6 separate regions of the Homo sapiens genome follow, and regions 1, 2, 3, 4 and 6 are each linked to region 5. The links are contacts of gene promoters, found by promoter capture Hi-C in blood cells and fetal thymus (Javierre and others, 2016). All regions are on one chromosome and are shown on one strand. The core of a region is centred on a gene start or on the middle of the fragment in contact, and the rest is flanking DNA. Distances in the headings are between cores, read along the strand shown.

What was found. Contacts are between HindIII fragments. The CHiCAGO score rates a contact against its expected background, and 5 or more counts as called.
Region 1: a contact is called between a fragment that was not itself captured here and the fragment with the promoter of SIK2 in region 5, in 8 of 17 cell types (megakaryocytes, total CD4 T cells, erythroblasts and 5 more). The highest score is 9.1, in megakaryocytes.
Region 2: a contact is called between a fragment that was not itself captured here and the fragment with the promoter of SIK2 in region 5, in 16 of 17 cell types (erythroblasts, total CD8 T cells, endothelial precursors and 13 more). The highest score is 17.5, in erythroblasts.
Region 3: a fragment that was not itself captured here is called in contact with the fragment with the promoter of SIK2 in region 5 in 6 of 17 cell types (naive CD4 T cells, naive CD8 T cells, erythroblasts and 3 more); the score reaches 6.7 in naive CD4 T cells.
Region 4: a contact is called between a fragment that was not itself captured here and the fragment with the promoter of SIK2 in region 5, in 6 of 17 cell types (naive B cells, erythroblasts, activated CD4 T cells and 3 more). The highest score is 7.2, in naive B cells.
Region 6: a contact is called between a fragment that was not itself captured here and the fragment with the promoter of SIK2 in region 5, in 5 of 17 cell types (endothelial precursors, naive B cells, naive CD8 T cells and 2 more). The highest score is 7.0, in endothelial precursors.

What each region holds. Positions count from the first base shown.
Region 1 is chr11:111,829,624-111,832,323 of GRCh38, forward strand. The region is part of intron 13 of ALG9 (ALG9 alpha-1,2-mannosyltransferase); the gene reads right to left. Among named protein-coding and RNA genes, the nearest start is that of ALG9, 41 kb to the right of the region's middle. RefSeq lists an enhancer at 79-218. The HindIII fragment of the contact is 3,201 bases long and covers 1-2,700 here.
Region 2 is chr11:111,770,921-111,773,846 of GRCh38, forward strand. It overlaps a transcript of ALG9 not described here. Among named protein-coding and RNA genes, the nearest start is that of PPP2R1B, 6.0 kb to the left of the region's middle. The HindIII fragment of the contact is 5,513 bases long and covers 1-2,926 here.
Region 3 is chr11:111,751,859-111,754,558 of GRCh38, forward strand. It overlaps PPP2R1B (protein phosphatase 2 scaffold subunit Abeta), which reads right to left. Exons shown (of 15, transcript NM_002716.5): 8 at 2,641-2,700; 9 at 1,585-1,719; 10 at 301-474. Among named protein-coding and RNA genes, the nearest start is that of PPP2R1B, 13 kb to the right of the region's middle. The HindIII fragment of the contact is 4,602 bases long and covers 1-2,700 here.
Region 4 is chr11:111,794,945-111,797,860 of GRCh38, forward strand. All of the region lies in intron 14 of ALG9 (ALG9 alpha-1,2-mannosyltransferase), which reads right to left. It overlaps LOC124902756 (a long non-coding RNA gene), which reads left to right. Exons shown (of 2, transcript XR_007062891.1): 1 at 1-1,130; 2 at 1,833-2,916. Among named protein-coding and RNA genes, the nearest start is that of PPP2R1B, 30 kb to the left of the region's middle. RefSeq lists a silencer at 2,265-2,344. The HindIII fragment of the contact is 346 bases long and covers 1,215-1,560 here.
Region 5 is chr11:111,600,858-111,603,821 of GRCh38, forward strand. SIK2 (salt inducible kinase 2) reads left to right here and starts at 1,592. Exons shown (of 15, transcript NM_015191.3): 1 at 1,592-1,841. The coding sequence starts at 1,707. RefSeq lists an enhancer at 978-1,117 and silencers at 1,208-1,647, 2,198-2,357. The HindIII fragment of the contact is 10,147 bases long and covers 1-2,964 here.
Region 6 is chr11:111,732,401-111,735,355 of GRCh38, forward strand. It overlaps a transcript of PPP2R1B not described here. Among named protein-coding and RNA genes, the nearest start is that of PPP2R1B, 33 kb to the right of the region's middle. RefSeq lists enhancers at 247-1,063, 2,644-2,955. The HindIII fragment of the contact is 8,776 bases long and covers 1-2,955 here.

The DNA.
Region 1 (2,700 bases), core at 164-2,663, 230 kb after region 5:
AAGGCCTGAAACAGAGGTTGAGATCCCAATAATAAAAGATGTGTATTTTGTCGGGGGAAGAGTGAGCTAAGGAGAGCTGGGTAGTAATAAATATTGTCACAGCTTTTCCTCATCAGCTGTAACAGAAACTTTGTCAGGGTTGCAGTCTTCAGTGACATCATCTCAACTCTCAAACACCAGCATCACACTCTTGGAGCGGGACACAGCACAGAGTAAGCCTCTAACAGTACTCATCTCTTCCAGGACAGAAGCAGCATGTAGACTTCCATCTCTGGTCATGAGGGCCCCGGCTCAGGACACATGTCTCAAGATAAACTGTGCTGCCATAAAATATTTGACAGGAAAATAGGTAATGGGATAAGCTAAAATATAAACACTCCAGTTGGATTTCAGGTGTAGTTTCAGCAAATTGGAAAGGGAAGCAAAGAAATGTCAATGGTCTTAGAAATTCCCAGTCATTTAAAAGGAAAATACATTTCACTTGATTCCAGAAAAGAATCAGACTCTCCTAACTTCCAGTCAATGCTCTTGCCACTATCAAATAGCCAATCATCAATATCCTCCCATGATATTTCCTTTATTGAAATAAGAACATGGAGGCCTGGGAGGAAACATCTGAAAGGGAAAAATTTCAAGTATTTTTCTGTCTTTTCATTTCCTCTTTTAGATATGCTCCAGTTAAATTTTAAAAAGTAGTTGTCCTCCAGAGCCACAGACTGTCTTAGTTTTTTGTCTCTCATATAGCCTTGCTAAATACATATTTGTTGATTGAATCTTTAAACTCACAAGAAAAAATTCATTGCACTGTAAAAATCTAAACTCACAGGTAAAAATTTTTGTTCATTCAATCATTATAGATCATGGAAACATCAATTAATTTCTAAATGCCAACATAATGAATACTAAAAAAATTAACTTTAGAGAAGTATTTTGAACATTCTCCAATTAAATTCTTAGTAGACTCTAATCTAATTGCACTGTATATATTACAGCAATTTGAATCTGCTTGCCTTGATACCCGAGACTGATAACAATTAGTGAGGAAACAAATAGGGCAAGTTATTTTTTCCTCCAATAAGGACTTCCAAAAAGGGCAGGAGAAGGGATAAAATGAGAGAGAAAGGAAGAAAAAGAGAAGAAAGGAAAGCATGTCGGGGGAAATCCTGATCATTTTTATTTATTGTTAAACATAATATTTACTACTTAAAGTAAGTACCTGTCATATATAAACTAGAAATGGAAAGTAATTTTTTAAAAAAGTAATGAGTTGGGCACAGTGGCTCACACCTGTAATCCCGCCACTTTGGGAGGTCAAGGCAGAAGGATCACTTGAAGCCTGGAGTTCGAGACCAGCCTGGGCAAGACAGTGAGGCCCTCTCTCCACAAAAAATTTAAAAATTAGCTAGGGGTAGTGGCTAATTTAAATTTTTTTTTTTAAACAGAGTCTCGCTCCGTCACCGAGGCTGGAGTGCAGTGGCGCCATCTCGGCTGACTGCAACCTCCGCCTCCTGGGTTCAAGTGATTCTCCTGCCTCAGCCTCCTAAGTAGCTGGTATTACAGGTGCACATCATCATGCCTGGCTAATTTTTGTATTTTTAGTAGAGACGGGGTTTCACCATGTTGGCCAAGCTGATCTTGAACTCCTGACCTCAGGTGATCCTCCCACCTCGGCCTCCCAAAGTGCTGAGATTGCAGGTGTGAGCCACCATGCCAGCCTAATTCTCCATAGAGACAGGGTCTTTACAGCACCTGTAGTCTCAGCTACTCAGGAGGCTGAGGTGGGAAGATCGATTGAGCCCAGGAGTTCGAGGCTATAGTGAGCTATGATGATGACACTGCACTCCAGCCTGGGTGACAGAGTGAGACCCTGCCTCTGAAAAACAAAACAAAACAAACAAACAGAAAGCAATGCTCAGCTACTTAATGTCTATTTGGCCTTGTAACATCAAAGAATGATTAGCTATCACACAAAAACAAGAAAGAGGTGGTATGAAAATAATATTGAAGAATCCTGAAACCAAGCCTTTTATCCTAGGGCTAATCTTTATCAAGTTATAATCTCTCTAGATCTCAGTTCTTTCATCCATAAAATAAAAAGATCACAGACTACATTTTAAGTTCCCTTCTAAATCTATGATTCTTTTTACTGGTTAAACTGGAAAAGCAGGGATAAAGAAGAATGAAATAAAGAATATTTTGAACTGATATACAGTCAATTCTGTTCTAATACTAGTTTCAAAAATGCAAATTTTTTCCAACAAAGGGATATATTAGGGAACACTTTGAGCGTAATTTAATTTTTGCATTTGATTATGTCATTTAATTCACAGGAAACACTAGGTGAATGCAGAAAAGTACACTCAGTGGAACCAATCAGCATAGGAATACACATAGTGTATACATACACAAATATATCTACTGGCCTTCTCAGTTCACTGTGTTATAAGCCACATCCACCCATTCACCTTTGCTATTATAACTTTTGTAAGATTTCAGATAATCCTTTTACTACTACAAGCTGCAATCCTTCCAATACCAGGCCACAAGCAAACTTCAAGTCTTCTGCAAAGTAAACAGCCACATTTATTGTAGTATTTATGCACTTTTAACCATTTAACATATGTAAAATCATGCTACCATTTTTAATCTTTTTTTAATTTTTATTTTTTCAGAGAGAGGGTCCTGCTATGTTGTCCAGGC
Region 2 (2,926 bases), core at 304-2,803, 170 kb after region 5:
AGCCCTCAGGTAACAAGGTGACAGCCTCAGTACAAAAGCACTGAGTTCTGACACCCACATGCAGTTCACTCATCCAGTGTGGATCAAAGGAAGACTGAGTTAGATTTGCCCGGTTCCTATAAGACAAAGCATCAAGAATATAGGAAGTACAGGCAGATGGGATCGACGGCCATCAACTCTTGCTCACATTAACAGCTCTCAAAGTCACATCAGAAAACCATCAGTCATTGGCCGGGCGTGGTGGCTCATGCCTGTAATCCCAGCACTGTGGGAGGCCGAGGAGGGTGGATCACCTGAGGTCAGGAGTTTGAGGCCAGCCTGGCCAACATAGTGAAACCCTGTCTCTACTAAAAATGCAAAAATTAGCCAGGTGTGGTGGTGCATGCCTGTAATCCCAGATACTCAGGAGGCTGAGGCAGGAGAATCGCTTGAACCCAGGAGGCAGATGTTGTGGTGAGCCGAGATAGCGCCACTGGGAAAAAGAAAAGCATCAGTCATGAGGATCGAAGTGACATCACTGTCATCTTCTCTGGCCCCTTGCCTCAAGTTTACTAAACTTGCGTCTCCCTTACAGCCAAAGAGCTTTACAAATAGGTTCTCATTCAAATGCTGATCTGCTCCACAGTCACCCCACTGTGTGAGAAGGCCAAGTGTAGGAGACCTGTAAGTGTCTCAGGGCAGATTCAGACTGTTGTCCCCCTGAAAGGGACATCAAGGGAGTGGTGGATGACAGGGGCGGGAAACCTGAGGCACACGGAAGCATTTTCCAACTGTCTTCATTTGGCAAGATGACCCTGGTAAACTGATTCCGAGGGCTGTACTTAATTCATCGCAAAGTAGTGATTATCACCATAGCATTAATGATATTTTAAATTTGTATTTATGCAAAGTATGTCACCATTCTGTGGAACTCAAATATTTTCCCTTCAATTTCAGCTCAATATTTTAGCCTTCTTTTTCTTCTGTGTTTTCTTCATGGCAAATTTTTAATCTCATTTTTATGGGTGGGAATACCCCAACAAAGAGAAAGGGACTTTACCTGATGTCCCAATAAATCAGAAGCAGGTGCAGAACTCATAATCAGGGATTATTGCTACTCCCTCCTCCATCTCCTACCTCTGTTCTACAGCTCATCACCACATATAACAAAGGTATTGGATTTCCAAGGCAAACTTTGCTTGAATTCTTGGGAAGAGCAAATCAAAGAAATAGGACAGCCGGGCAAGGTGGTGAGGTGGCTCATGCCTGTAATCCCAGCACTTTGGGAAGTCCAGGTGGGCAGATCTCTGGAGCTCAGGAGTTTGAGACCAGCCTAGGCAACATGGTAAAACCTCATCTCTACAAAAAATACAAAAATTAGCCGGGCACAGAGGTGCCTGACTGTAGTACCAGTTATTTGGGAGGGTGAGGTGGGAGAATCGCTTGAGCCTGGGAGGCAGAGGCTGCAGTTAGCCATGATTGCACCACTGCACTCCAGCCTGGGCAATATAGCAAGAAAAAAGAAAAAGAAAGAGGACACTCAGTTACCTTTCACAATAGTACATACAATGGTTAGGAGAGTATACTCTGGAGTCAGGAAGATGTAGATTGAAATCCCACCTCTACCAATTACTAGCTGTGTGACTTTGGGCAAATAACCTATCCTCTCTGAATCTTGGTTTCTACATTTATACGGTGGGGCTGTTGAGCTTACCTCATGTGGTTGTTAAAAAGATTAAATAATTCATATAAAGTGCATAGGTAGTGCCTGGCAAGAGAAAGCACTCAAATACTATCCATTAACAGTTTTTATCTACTGAGGAAGTGGGAGCAAATAGGAAAATATTGCAATCAATTGAACTTTGGCAACAGAAAGGACCCACATGAAAGAATGAAAGAGGTACATGACTTACAGAGTCAGAATACCTGTTCCAGAAGATTTTTTTCATCGGTAAAATAGAGCTTTTACCTCTCAGACTTGTGAGGAGTGAGAGTCATGATGAAAGGTGCTTTGTTAGTGGAAAGCACCATGCAGATGTTAGAAGTTGTGTTATTTAGGCCGGGTGCGGTGGCTCACGCCTGTAATCTCAGCACTCTGGGAGGCCGAGGCAGGCGGATCACGAGGTCAGGAGATCGAGACCATCCTGGCTAACATAGTGAAACTCCCTCTCTACTTAAAAAAAAAAAAATACAGAAGTTGTATTATTTATTACAAAGGGCTCACTGAATCTGATGCCCATGCCAAACACAAGAGAGTACATCTGGAGACTATGTTCAAGGTGTACAGGCCCCAGTTCTCTAAGAACAGCAGTCAGGATTAGTATCTCCTTTAGCCACAATGGTAGATTTTTTTTTTGTTTCCTGAGACTGAGTCTTGCTTTGTTGCCCAGGCTGTAGTACAATGGGGCAATCTCAGCTCACTGCAACTTCCACCTCCCGGGTCCAAGTGATTCTTCTGCCTCAGCCTCCCAAGTAGCTGGGACTACAGGCATGTGCCACCATGCCTGGCTAATTTTTGTATTTTTAGTAGAGACGGGGTTTCACCATGTTCGCCAGGCTGCTCTCAAACTCCTGAACTCAGGTGATTCGCCTGCCTTCGCCTCCCAAAGTGCTGGGATTATGGGCGTCACAAGGGTAGATTTAAGCTACGGAAAACCTGAAGATAAACAGGCACAGTGACCTTTCTCAAAAGCCTTAGGCCTTTGAGTCCTATTAAAGGGCTCCAGTGTTCTCAGGCCAGAACCCCCATTATCTTGCCAGGGGCCTATATACCACTCGGAAAAAAATGTTTTGTTATGGTGTTAAGTGAAAAAGCATAGCTCCTAAATGGCTAATACGAAAATCATCTTTTGTTTTTGCTTTTTTTTTTTTTTGAGACAGGGTCTCATTCTGTTACCCAGTCTGGAGTGCAGTAGCATGATCACGGCTCGCTGCAGCCTCGATCTCC
Region 3 (2,700 bases), core at 12-2,511, 150 kb after region 5:
CCCAGCTACTTGGGAGGCTGAGACAGGAGAATCGCTTAAACCCAGGAGGTGGAGGTTGCAGTGAGCCAAGATTGCATCATTGCACTCCAGCCTGGGCAACAACAGTGAAACTCCATCTTAAAAGAAAAGAAACGTATGCACTAACAAACATAAAAACCATCCTATAGGTAACAAGAACAAGGCCATACTTTCATGCATCTAAACAAACATAAGCATACAGGCTACTAGGCCTCCTACTTGCCATGGTAAATTGTCACTATCTGACACTACCCTGCAGTTCATGGAGCAACACATACTCACCAGCTGGCCTGCCAGCAGCGGCATATACTCAATGATGGCCAGGCGGACCCTCCATTTGGCATCTTCTGCCAGCTCCACTATGGCAGGAAGGAGAGACTGAGAGAGCTGACGGATTCCAATCACTTCATTTACACAATCCAAATTGGAGATGATATTCAAACGAACGTCAGGACACTGCAAGTACACAAGCCCCAAAAGACCACATTTAAAAATCAAGTACTCTGCCCAACAGTCTCCTGTCAGGGTAAGATAAAAGGTGAGGTAAGACTCAGGTGAAAAAAAAATGGATAATCTTGAAGAAATAATAGTGAATACATAAATAACTCAAGGAACATAAATGATCTTAATCAGAAATTTCAATTAAAAGTCCGTAATACTAAAGACTACAAGAAAAGTCCGTAAGATGGTAAAGAGCATAATCTCTGGAACTAAATCAGATGCACTCAAATTTCAGATCTGTCATTGTTGAAAGACCTTGCTCAAGTTACTTTAACCCTCTATGCCTCAGCTTTCTCATCTGTAAAATGGGATAATTGGCCGGGTGCGGTGGCTCACACCTGTAATCCCAGCACTTTGGGAGGCCGAGACGGGCAGATCACGAGGTCAGGAGATCGAGACCACAGTGAAACCCCGTCTCTACTAAAAATACAAAAAATTAGCTGGGTGCTGTGGCAGGCGCCTGTAGTCCCAGCTACTCAGGAGGCTGAGGCAAGAGAATGGCATCAACTCAGGAGGCGGAGCTTGCAGTGAGCAGAGATTGCGCCACTGCACTCCAGCCTGGGCGACAGAGCAAGACTCCGTCTCAAAAAACAAAACAAACAAACAAACAAACAAAAAGGGATAATAATAAGACCTACCTCACAGGATTGTTGTGAGAATTGCATGTAAAAATACATGCAAAGCACTAAGGCTCATGCTTGCCATGTAGTAATTACTCAGTAAATATTAGGTATCATTATAATTTTTGATACTATATTTAAACTTAAATAAATGAAACTTTTTAAACAAAGACACATTAGCTTTAAAGAAACCAGGGAGTATAAAGCAAAAATCAGGTAAAGATGATAAACAGATATTTCTAGGTTTACTCTAATGGGTACTTTTGCCCACTTTCTGAGGAACCTATAACCCCATACCCAAAATCACAGGTGTCATTGGTTTAAAATAAGTTATGATTTTTTTATCCATTTTCTTTTTGGGGGTTCTATTTTAATGAAACCCTAAACCAAAATCAAATAAAATCAAATTACTATCAAAGGCAACAGAACATAAAGCAAGACCCACCTCATCCTTTAACTGAGCTAAGAAAAGAGGTAGAAGATGTTCAATGGTATTTTCTTTGCCCAAAATAGTAGACAATCCCATAATTACAGAAGCTAGAGCCGATTTGACATGTTGATTGGTATCGGATACTAATTCCTAAAATAAAATCGAAATTAAAAGCCTTTATTACAAGACAACAGAAACTTCCATACCATTATTCTGGGAAACAGAGTCTTGCTCTGTTGCCCAGGCTGGAGTGCAGTGGCATGACCTTGGCTCACTGCAGCCTCACCCTCCCAGGCTCAAGCACTTCAGCCTCCAGAGTAGCTGGGTCTACAGACATGCACCACCAGGCCTGGCTAATTTTTTTCATTTTTTGCAGAGACAGGTTCTTACTACATTGCCAGGGCTGGTCTTGAACTCCTGGGTTCATGCAATCCTCTTACCTTGGCCTCTCAAAGCGCTGGGATTACAGGTGTGAGCCACCACGCCTGGCCTAATTTTTTTTTTTTTGAGACAGTGTCTCACCCTGTCACCTAGGCTGGAGTACAGTGGCATGATCATAGCTCACTGCCATCTCAACCTCCTGGGCTCAAGCAATCCTCCCACCTCAGACTCCCAAGTAGCTGGTACTACAGGTGCATGCCACCAGGCTCAACTAATTTTTGTATTTTTTGTAGCAATGGGGTCTCACTATGTTGCCCAGGCTGGTCTCAAACTCCTGGGCTCAAGAAATCCTCCCACCTCAGCGTCCCAAAGTGCTTGGATTACAGGCATGTACCACCATGCCTGACCCCAAGGAATTTAAAGACAGCACTATTTCAATACTGATTAGTTGATAATGTTTCCTCAGACTACTTGTTAGGTAACATAAACCTATGCACCAAAGAGCAGTTTACAATTACAATGGGCTAATAAGTGATGAATAACAATGTTGCACATTAACACATCTTCCCCATTCATTCCCTGTCAACCTTTAAACTCAAAGAGCTTTAAGGTAAACAAACAAACAAAAATAATGAGATTAAGGTTTACCTTCATATAAAAGAGAGTGAAACAAAATAAAGTCAGGTTTACCTTTATATAAGGCAGAATTTGATTCATAATTATGGTCTCTCTATCTTCAATGGGCAAGTT
Region 4 (2,916 bases), core at 138-2,637, 190 kb after region 5:
CTCAAAAAGCTGGTATGGAGCAAAAATGTGACTGTTATTTAATAGTTTTTAACAGGAAATGCGGTGAGAGACATTATTCTAATGGTAACTAATGCAAAGGTGACTTACAACCCTGTTATCCAAAAGAGGAGTTCCATGCTGTATGTTATACTCCACCAGTCCCTTGAGGATGGAATTTTATCTAACTGCTCTATCTCTAGTTTTTAGGAAAGTGCCACAGAAAGTCCTCAATAAATAGTCTGTGAATGAATGAGCGCCTATGCTCTGACTCTTAAACCAGAGCATCTGGTTTACCTCCCACCCTTCTTACAATATTCATCTTCCACAAGGAAAAGGAAATATCAAAAATAATCTAAAGTTTTTTTTCTGTTCTCTTCCTAAGCAATTCAATCCTAAAGCCATTACGTGGGGCAGAGCAAAGCAGAAGTCTAGAGTGGGGAGCTGGGGGGCTGTGGTGGCCCATGGGATGTCAGAGTGCAAGGGGGCATGGAAGGCGTGTTGCTAAAGAAAATATACTGCAAAAGGTCCCATAATTGTATAATGGCAATATACCCCGCAGGTGGCCGTTTACACAGAATTTGCTGAATCAGCATTATCCATGTGACCAGTATGATATTTTACTTTCAGCAGGCATGTTCAATAGACCCTTGATGTTCAATAAATATTCATGATTTTGACTATATGGAGCAACCTCCAAAAATACATTATGTGTAATGACTAGGAAGTTTACTGAGGCACAAACTGGAATCGTGGCATCGTGAGACTGGTATACAGAGTGGATCATTCCACTGATTTGTGGCCTTGGCCAACATCTGGCATAACATCATAACCTTTTGATCAGTCATCTTTAGCAAATATTCAGAGTGAGGAACTGGGGAAAAATGCTATTAGGCAACTGGCCATTTTCTGACCTCAGTCCCATCAAGGTTGCTGGAGAAATGCTCTTCACCAGTCTTTTTTCCCATCTCACAGCTACTTAGATATAAAGGTACTCTATGTCCCATTCATCAGTCCTGTGGAGAGGATGCCAATGTTCGAGAGAGTTTTCGTCCCTGCTCTTCGGACCCTCATTTGGGCTTCTTTTATGTGACAAATAGAAGGATTAGGGGTCACATCAGCAAATGATTCTGGTAAGCTTTACAGAGATGAAATAAACAATGAGTATGTCTTAAAATAATTCAATAATCTTTATTTTACCAAATAAGGGCATCAGAAGCTTCTGAAGAAAACCTTATACCATCTTTTTTCTATTTAGTATAAATCCAGTTTTAAGAATGTGAAATACACAATCAATACATATTTTCTAAGACTCTATAATGTGCTAGGAGTTGTAGAGAATCAACATGTAATGTGGTTCTAACTCTCAAGGAACTTGGAACAAAGACCTCTGATGATGCTGCCTGCTTAGGCTAAGCCAGCTAAAAGCAGTGGTGGTCCTAAAACATGTTACATGCTCTTCAAACCTGAGAGCTTCTATGGCATGGACTTAGAGAACAGATGGTCTGTAAATGGTTTCTTTCTAGAGAACTCATTTCACAACAATGGAAAGCAGACTCTCTAAGCTTCAGAAAAATGAAAAAAGGTTTATTCTTCTTAAAATGTCAGCAGATCTTAATGATTAAGCAGCTGAATAATGGCAAAACACCATGTGTTTTGAAGCCAAATCTGGCCTGGGGTAGCTCTGCCAGACGAAGGGTCTCAAGAAAGTATTCTGGGAGAATATGAGGAGGAAAAGCCAAAAACTGATAGACAGTGAAACAGAAAGTATAAGAGAATAAAAGTTGATAAATACCAAAGTATAGAAACTCTGATCTCTTCTTCCTGTTTCTCAGTATTCTTGGCATCGCTGAGGAAGCTAAGGGCACCACCATGATTGACATACAGGGAAAAAACAAAAAACTCCAATTACTGCTTAGGAGGGAGAACTAATTCTACCCAAAGGAGGGAAGCACCATCTGAAGCATGTCAAACTTGGCCTGCAACCAAATTCTGCCATCGGGTGGAGTCTCTCCTTCCATCTGGGTAATAAGAAGTTGCAGATGGAAAAAGCCTGCTGGACTACTGCATGTACTATATGCCTCTTCTGTAAGAAATCACCTTTAAAAAGAAAAGTTTCAAAGTTTATCCAATTTGGATGGAGAACGGCATTGCAAGATAAGTAGTGGCTTTAAAGCATGTCCATACTTCTTTGACACTCCTCCCATCAACAGGGGAAGTCTACTTCTTTTCCCCTTGAGCATGAGCTATTCAACTGGCTTGCTGCCAACAAACAGAATGAGGAGGAAGTGATACTGTGTGACTTCCAAGGCTAGGTCATAAAAAATTATGCAGGTCTTGAGATGCTTACTCTTGGAAGTCAGCCACCATGCTATAAGGAAGCCCAAGCCACATAAAGAAGACACATAGGTGTTCTGGCTGACAGCCCCAGCTGAGATCTAGCCAAGAGCCAGCATCCAGACATATGAGTGAGAAAGCCACTCAGCTGCCTCCAGCCCCAGCCACTATCTGATGGCTAATGCATTACAGATCCTGAGTAAGAACTGGCCAGTTGAGCCCATCAACTCCCAGAACCACGAGAAGAAACAATAATCAACTATTGTTGTTTTACGCCACTAAGTATGGATGACTGTTACACAGCAATAGCTGGAACAAATGCTTCTGGCTAATTTGCCCTTTACAGTAATCACTCCAGTCGTCTTATCTTCCATAGAGAAATAGTTCTGCTTATGCTGGAGCTAAGGGCTGGCTCCCTTCAACCAGATTACTCTCTACAACATAGGACAAAAATGAATATAAGTGCAATGGACTCTGTAGGCCTCAGAGCTGCTGGGTTCACCTCTTAGAGGGTAAAAGGAGAGCCATGGTCTTAGTAAAGTCCCCAGAACAGCTAAAGTTCAGTGGCCACTGAGAATCCTA
Region 5 (2,964 bases), core at 342-2,841:
TCTTTATTTTTCTGTTTAAAAGTAAGTATGCTCTACGATTCTTTTAAAAAATTCAATGTGTTAGAATCAATTTCTATATTTATTTATTTATTTATTTATTTACTGAGACAGAGTCTCGCTCTGTCGCCCAGGCTGGAGTGCAGTGGCACGATCTCGGCTCACTGCAACCTCTGCTTCCCTGGTTCAAGCAATTCTCCCTGCCTCAGCCTCCCGAGTAGCTGGGATTATAGGCGCCCACTACCACGCCCGGCTAATTTTTGCATTTTTAGTAGAGATGGGGTTTCACACAGGCTAGTCTTGAACTCCTGACCTCAGGTGATCCACCCGCCTCAGCCTCCCAAAGTGCTGGGATTACAGGCGTAAGCCACTAAGCCCGGCCCATTATTTATTCCTGATACTCAAACTGTCTCAGATTTGGTAAGGGGGGAGCACCTTCGAGCCATCTGCTTTCTTTTGACATATCTTCCTTGACATAGCCAAGAAATCTCCTTGCTTTAAGGAGCAGGATCTTTCAAGGGCATTTTATACTTTCCCTGTCTCTGCCCTCGAATGAGCCATCTCGCCACGGAGTCTGGCTCCTTTAGGTGGAGAATGGTATTTAGAAACCAAGATATAAAGGCATATGATACATCTCAAAATAGTGAGGTGTCACTGTCCCTGTTTCCTTGAGTCACATTTGGAAGCGTGGTGTGATTTATAATCCTACCTCGACTATTGCCTGTGTGACCTAGGCAATTCCCTTTATTCCTTGAGGTCTTCTTCGTCCTTTGGGGAAAAAAATTGGATTAGAGAAATATTTCTAAACTTTTTCAGAGTCACCAACGCGTTTGGGAATCTGACAGAAGCTACGGGTCCATCTCCCCAGAGACATGCTCACATAAGCAAAAACTGGCCTGTGTTTTAGGGGGTTCCAAACTCTGAAGCTCACATGAGGCTCCAAATCTCTGGATTAAGTGATCTCCAAGATCTCTTCAGCGCTGACATTGACATTCTGTGAGTCTATAAGCGACTGCACTGCTGTCAGAATGACTCCTCGGAGACATCAAAACGTGGAGGGTTTTATTATATATAGCAACGAGAAGAGAAAAGGACACAAAGAAAGGAGCCTGTGAGCAACGCATTGCTCAGCCACAGTTCTTTGCCGGTGCCAAATTTAGGACGCGCTGTACTTGTAGGTGAGAGGTTTTGGCGGGAAGGACCCCGGGTGGGCGGAGAACGCCGGGGCGGGGAAGGAGATCGCAGGCCGCATCCAGGTCTCTGCACCCCTCCGCACGGTCCGCCAGGGCTCGCTCTTGCCCTTCGCCTGGAAGGCCGAGGAACGGAGCGGGCCGAGCAGCGACCCCGCCCCTGGCAGCGGTGAGGCGGAGGGGCGAGGGGAGGGCGTCTGAGCCCGGAAGGAGCGCGCCGGCCAGGCTCGCGCCCCTCCCCGTGCGCCGTCCCCCACTCTCCAGCAGCCGACGTCGGCGGTGCTTCGGTCGCCATGGTGACCAATCCAGGCTCGGGCCCGCCCCCGCCCCCCTGCCCCGGCCCCCTGACGTCGGCGCACGTCAGCGGCGGCGCGCGCCTGGCTGGGCCCTGGGGAGCGGGAGGGAAGGAGCGAAGGAGCGAAGGAGCAAGCGGAGCGGCCGTCGCCCAAGCCAAGCCGCGCTGCCAACCCTCCCGCCCGCCCGCGCTCCTGTCCGCCGTGTCTAGCAGCGGGGCCCAGCATGGTCATGGCGGATGGCCCGAGGCACTTGCAGCGCGGGCCGGTCCGGGTGGGGTTCTACGACATCGAGGGCACGCTGGGCAAGGGCAACTTCGCTGTGGTGAAGCTGGGGCGGCACCGGATCACCAAGACGGAGGTGCGGCCCGGGGCTCGGCGGGAGCGTCCGAGGCGAGGGTTCGGGAGAGGAGCTGCTTACCGAGAGGGGCGGCCGCAGTGGTGGGACCGGGGAGACCCGAGAGGCCGCCTCACTGGCGGAGGCGAGCGGGCCTGGGACTGTGAGGACCCAGGAGGTGCAGGGGGTCGGTGAGCAGCGAAGGGATCGGGCCCGGGCACCCGGACCCGAGTGTCGTCCGACTGGAAACGCAACCAGCCGGGGCTTTGCTTTCCCCTACGCCACCCCCGGTGGCCACCCGGAATTTCGCCCAGAGCCCCCCACCCGGGCCGTGACCTGGTCTGTGGCCTCCGCTCCGGAGCCCAAGTTCCGCGTCTTCCCTGCTTTCGGCTGGGGGTGGGGTGGGAGGGGAAGTCTCGGTGTTCCCAGGCTGCGCCGTGAGAGACGTCGCCGGCCCGAGGAGGGGACCGCCTGCGCTTGGGCTCCGCGGATGGGGGATCGTGCGGCCCCCGTGACCCCGGCGCCCCTCCCCTGCCCGACGAGGAAGGGCCCCATGGCTGGGAATACCCCCACGGCCACTGTCCATCTCCTCTCCTTCCTTTTGGCCCAGGGTGTCTCTGATTTGGTGTCTGGCTAGCTTGATCTCTTGCCTGGGGCATTTCCATTTAATGCCCCAGACAATAGAACTGGTTAAAATGGTCATCTCTGCATTTGCACGGTGGGTGGATTGGTCTTCTACTTGTCTAGGGTTGTCACTGTACCAGGTGTGCATTCTGGCTGTAATACGCATTCTTTAAACCATATCAGATTCTGCCTCTACTCATAAAGCCCTCAACTGCTTCCTGACGGTGAATCCTGCACCCTCTTCATTGCACATTCTAATGCACCGCACATACTCTCTCACAAGTCTCTGTTCTTACCTAACCCGCCCCCCTTCCTTCCACTGCCTCAAGCTGCTCTCCTCAGGGTCTCTATTTTAAGACGTGCAAATTAAATACCTTAGAAGAACGGTAGAAACAAAACCATTCTTTAGAATAAAACCTAGTGGTTTTGACGTACTCTACTCTGCCTTATTGTAGTTCCTCCTGGAGTTTCATCCTTTTCCTGTTTGTTTGCCCTCCAGTTTTGGTCCTATTCTGCTTTTTCC
Region 6 (2,955 bases), core at 226-2,725, 130 kb after region 5:
AAGTTCTTGGCCAGGTGCTGTGGCTGACACCTGTAATCCCAACACCTTGGGAGGCAGAGGCAGGTGGATCATCTGAGGTCAGGAGTTCAAGACCAGCCTGGCCAACATGGTGAAACCCCATCTCCACTAAAAATACAAAAATTAGCCAGGTGTGGTGGCGGGCGCCTGTAATCCTAGCTACTCTGGAGACTGAGGCAGGAGAATCACTTGAACCTGGTAGGCAGAGGTTGCAGTGAGCTGAGATCGCACCACTGCACTCCAGCCTGAGCGACACAGCAAGACTTCATCTCAAAAAACAAATAAACAAACAAACAAAGCTCAGAGGGACCCTCCCTGCTGATGGGTTCTCATCCCTCCCTGGGTGGATCCAGGTGACAGGGAGCCTCCTGCTTGCCAGCAGCCCGTGGGCACCATGGGAGGAAGTTCTGGGCTTTGTGCACTAAATCCTGGGTGCTATGTGGCTACAAAGGAAATGTCACCTGCACAGAACATGGCTGCTCTGCCCTTCTCATTTCAGCCCCACCAGTGACTTCAAAAGCTGAGCAGCCCTTGAGCGATGGATTATCGCACAGGAATCATCCTGGACAACGTCCCTTAGGAGGCAGATGTGGGTCCTGACTGAGGCGAAGGGGCTGGGCCCTCCCTCAGACACAGGGGCCACTGGCACACCTGCCTCCCCCCAGGTATGAAGCTGTGCCCACAAATCACTCAGGCCAAACCCAAGGTCAGGCAGGGCAGAGAGCTTGCCAGGCGCCTCGGCCACTGTTCTTTCCAGCAAGCCTTCCTGCTGCTGCCTCCCTTTGTCCGTGTTTCTGGGGGGATTTCCTAGGGCAGACTGACTCAGAGCTGCTCTGAAATTGGCAAAGAGAGATTCCAAGCCCAGGGAAAGCATGAGCTGGGCTGAGCCCCCGAGCCAGCACAGTGTCTGGGAGGGTGGAGACAGGAGGGAGCCACAGCATGGGAAGCGGACTTCCCCTGGAGCCGAGCCCCCAAAAGCTGGATAAGCAGAAAAGCTCAGAAAATGTGGGCCCAGAGGAAAATGAGGCATTAGGGATTGAGCTTCTCAAAGGGAGAACTGAGTCACTCTCTCCTCAGGTCGGCTGGGACAGTTCTGGCTCCAGCTCCTCACTCCCCAAAAGTGAAATGCCCCGAGTGGGGCTGACTGACAAATCAGACCCTGAGGAGACTGTTCATTGTCACCCCAGGGCCACCCACATAGTTGGGGGTGGGACACAATGGAATGGAGGAAAAGCCCACCAAGCCCTTTCCTCCAAGCACGCCACACATAGCTCCCGGAGCGCACAGCCTTGCCTGTCTCTTCTGTCTGGGATCCGCCAGAACTGCCTTCCAGTCGCTACAGAGCCCAAATGCTTAGCAGTGCCCCTGTGCCAGCAAAGTGAGGGCTGAAGGGCAGGCAGGCAGTGGAAGGGAACCAGGGATGAGAGGGCCAGGCAAGGAGGGCTAGGCACAGAGCAAGCCTGGGAGAGCAAGGCCCGGCTCCCACCCAGCCCGGGAGCCACCACCTGGCCACCCTCCAGGCAGGGACATTCTGGGAGGCAGCAAAGAACCTCTGACAGAGGCCTCGGCCCCTGGCGCCCTCTCAGCCCTGCCACTAACCCAGGCAAATCATTGTAAAGGCTGGTGTCTCCAGTGGTAACTTGGAGCACAGGCTGGCTGGTTTCACCCCAGGGTTTACTGCGAGGGGCAAATGCAGCCTGGCCTGGCACTCCTGGAAGACCCCCACTCCCCTGGAGGGCTGTCACAGAGTCCCACTCTGCCTATCTTACTTTAACTCTTGCCTGCCCCAACACTAGGTACAGAAAATGGCTGCTTCTTGCCTGTGAGCTCTGTCTTCACTGACTTAAGGGTGGTTGTGCTGTTCTGAGCATCTGCTTCAGGCTAAGAACTGGGAACTCTGCCCCAGGATTTCTGAATTTTCGGAAATGAGTTCTAGGCATCAGACATGGGTACCACAAACATAAGAACATCCCTGAGAATCTATGTCACAGGTAGGAGGACTTTTTTATCTCCAACTGTTAGGTCAAGCTCCAGTGTGGAAAAGACTTGGAAGGCCTGGGGGAGTCTTTTTGTGCGGACAGCTCGGCCCCTAGGCCCCACAGTGGAGAGGGCACTGACAGGAGGTCAGCCTAAGGACCTGCTCCCGTGTGCCCTGTCACCAGCCTACGTCTGACTTCCCCATGGACTTCAAGGTCCAATTGCCTTAGCTGGAAGCCACTGGGGATGGGACTGAACATCCCTGGGCTTTGGTCTTTGTCATCAGTCCTCAGTTTGACTGGACTCACATCTCCTGTAGTCTTTCTGGGTTCAAGAGAACAAAATCCGCTGGCCAAGAGGTTGGCCCTTAAGGAGCTCCTCCCCTTCACACACTCCCAGCAGAGCTCCTCAGAGCTGCCCTTGAGACCCCCCAGGGCAGCGCGAAGGCCCTGCCAGCCTAACTCTGTGGGAGGAACAGGACATGCAGCTAGATGCTAGAGGCTGGCTCTAGGACAAGTGAGGTTCCTGAGCTGCAGAATGGCTCCAGCCTCAGGCCCAGAACAGCCTGGTTCACCAGCAGGTGCTGATTAAATCCAGAGAAGAGACCCGCATCGAAAGGCACAAGTCAGAGACCCTCAGGGCCCAAGGGACTCTCTGAGTTTGGGGAAAATAAGGCAGGCAGGAAAAAACCAGAAACAAGAGTAGAAGGGGCATGGAAGGCAGAAGATGGTCTTAGCTGGGACGTGGCGCAGGGGCTGGTCTCGGGTCAGTGTGTGTACAGGACAGACTGTGTGCAGAGAAAAGGAAGAGGAGGAGGGTGGGCGCAGTCAGGCAGTGTCTGTAGCCATTATTTATGGATGCTTCACTTGATTTTAGTCTCCAAACCTGGGCTCGGCATGGAGACTGAATGTCCCTCACAGCTGCTCCTTCCTGCAATAACAAGACTGACATCACTGTTGT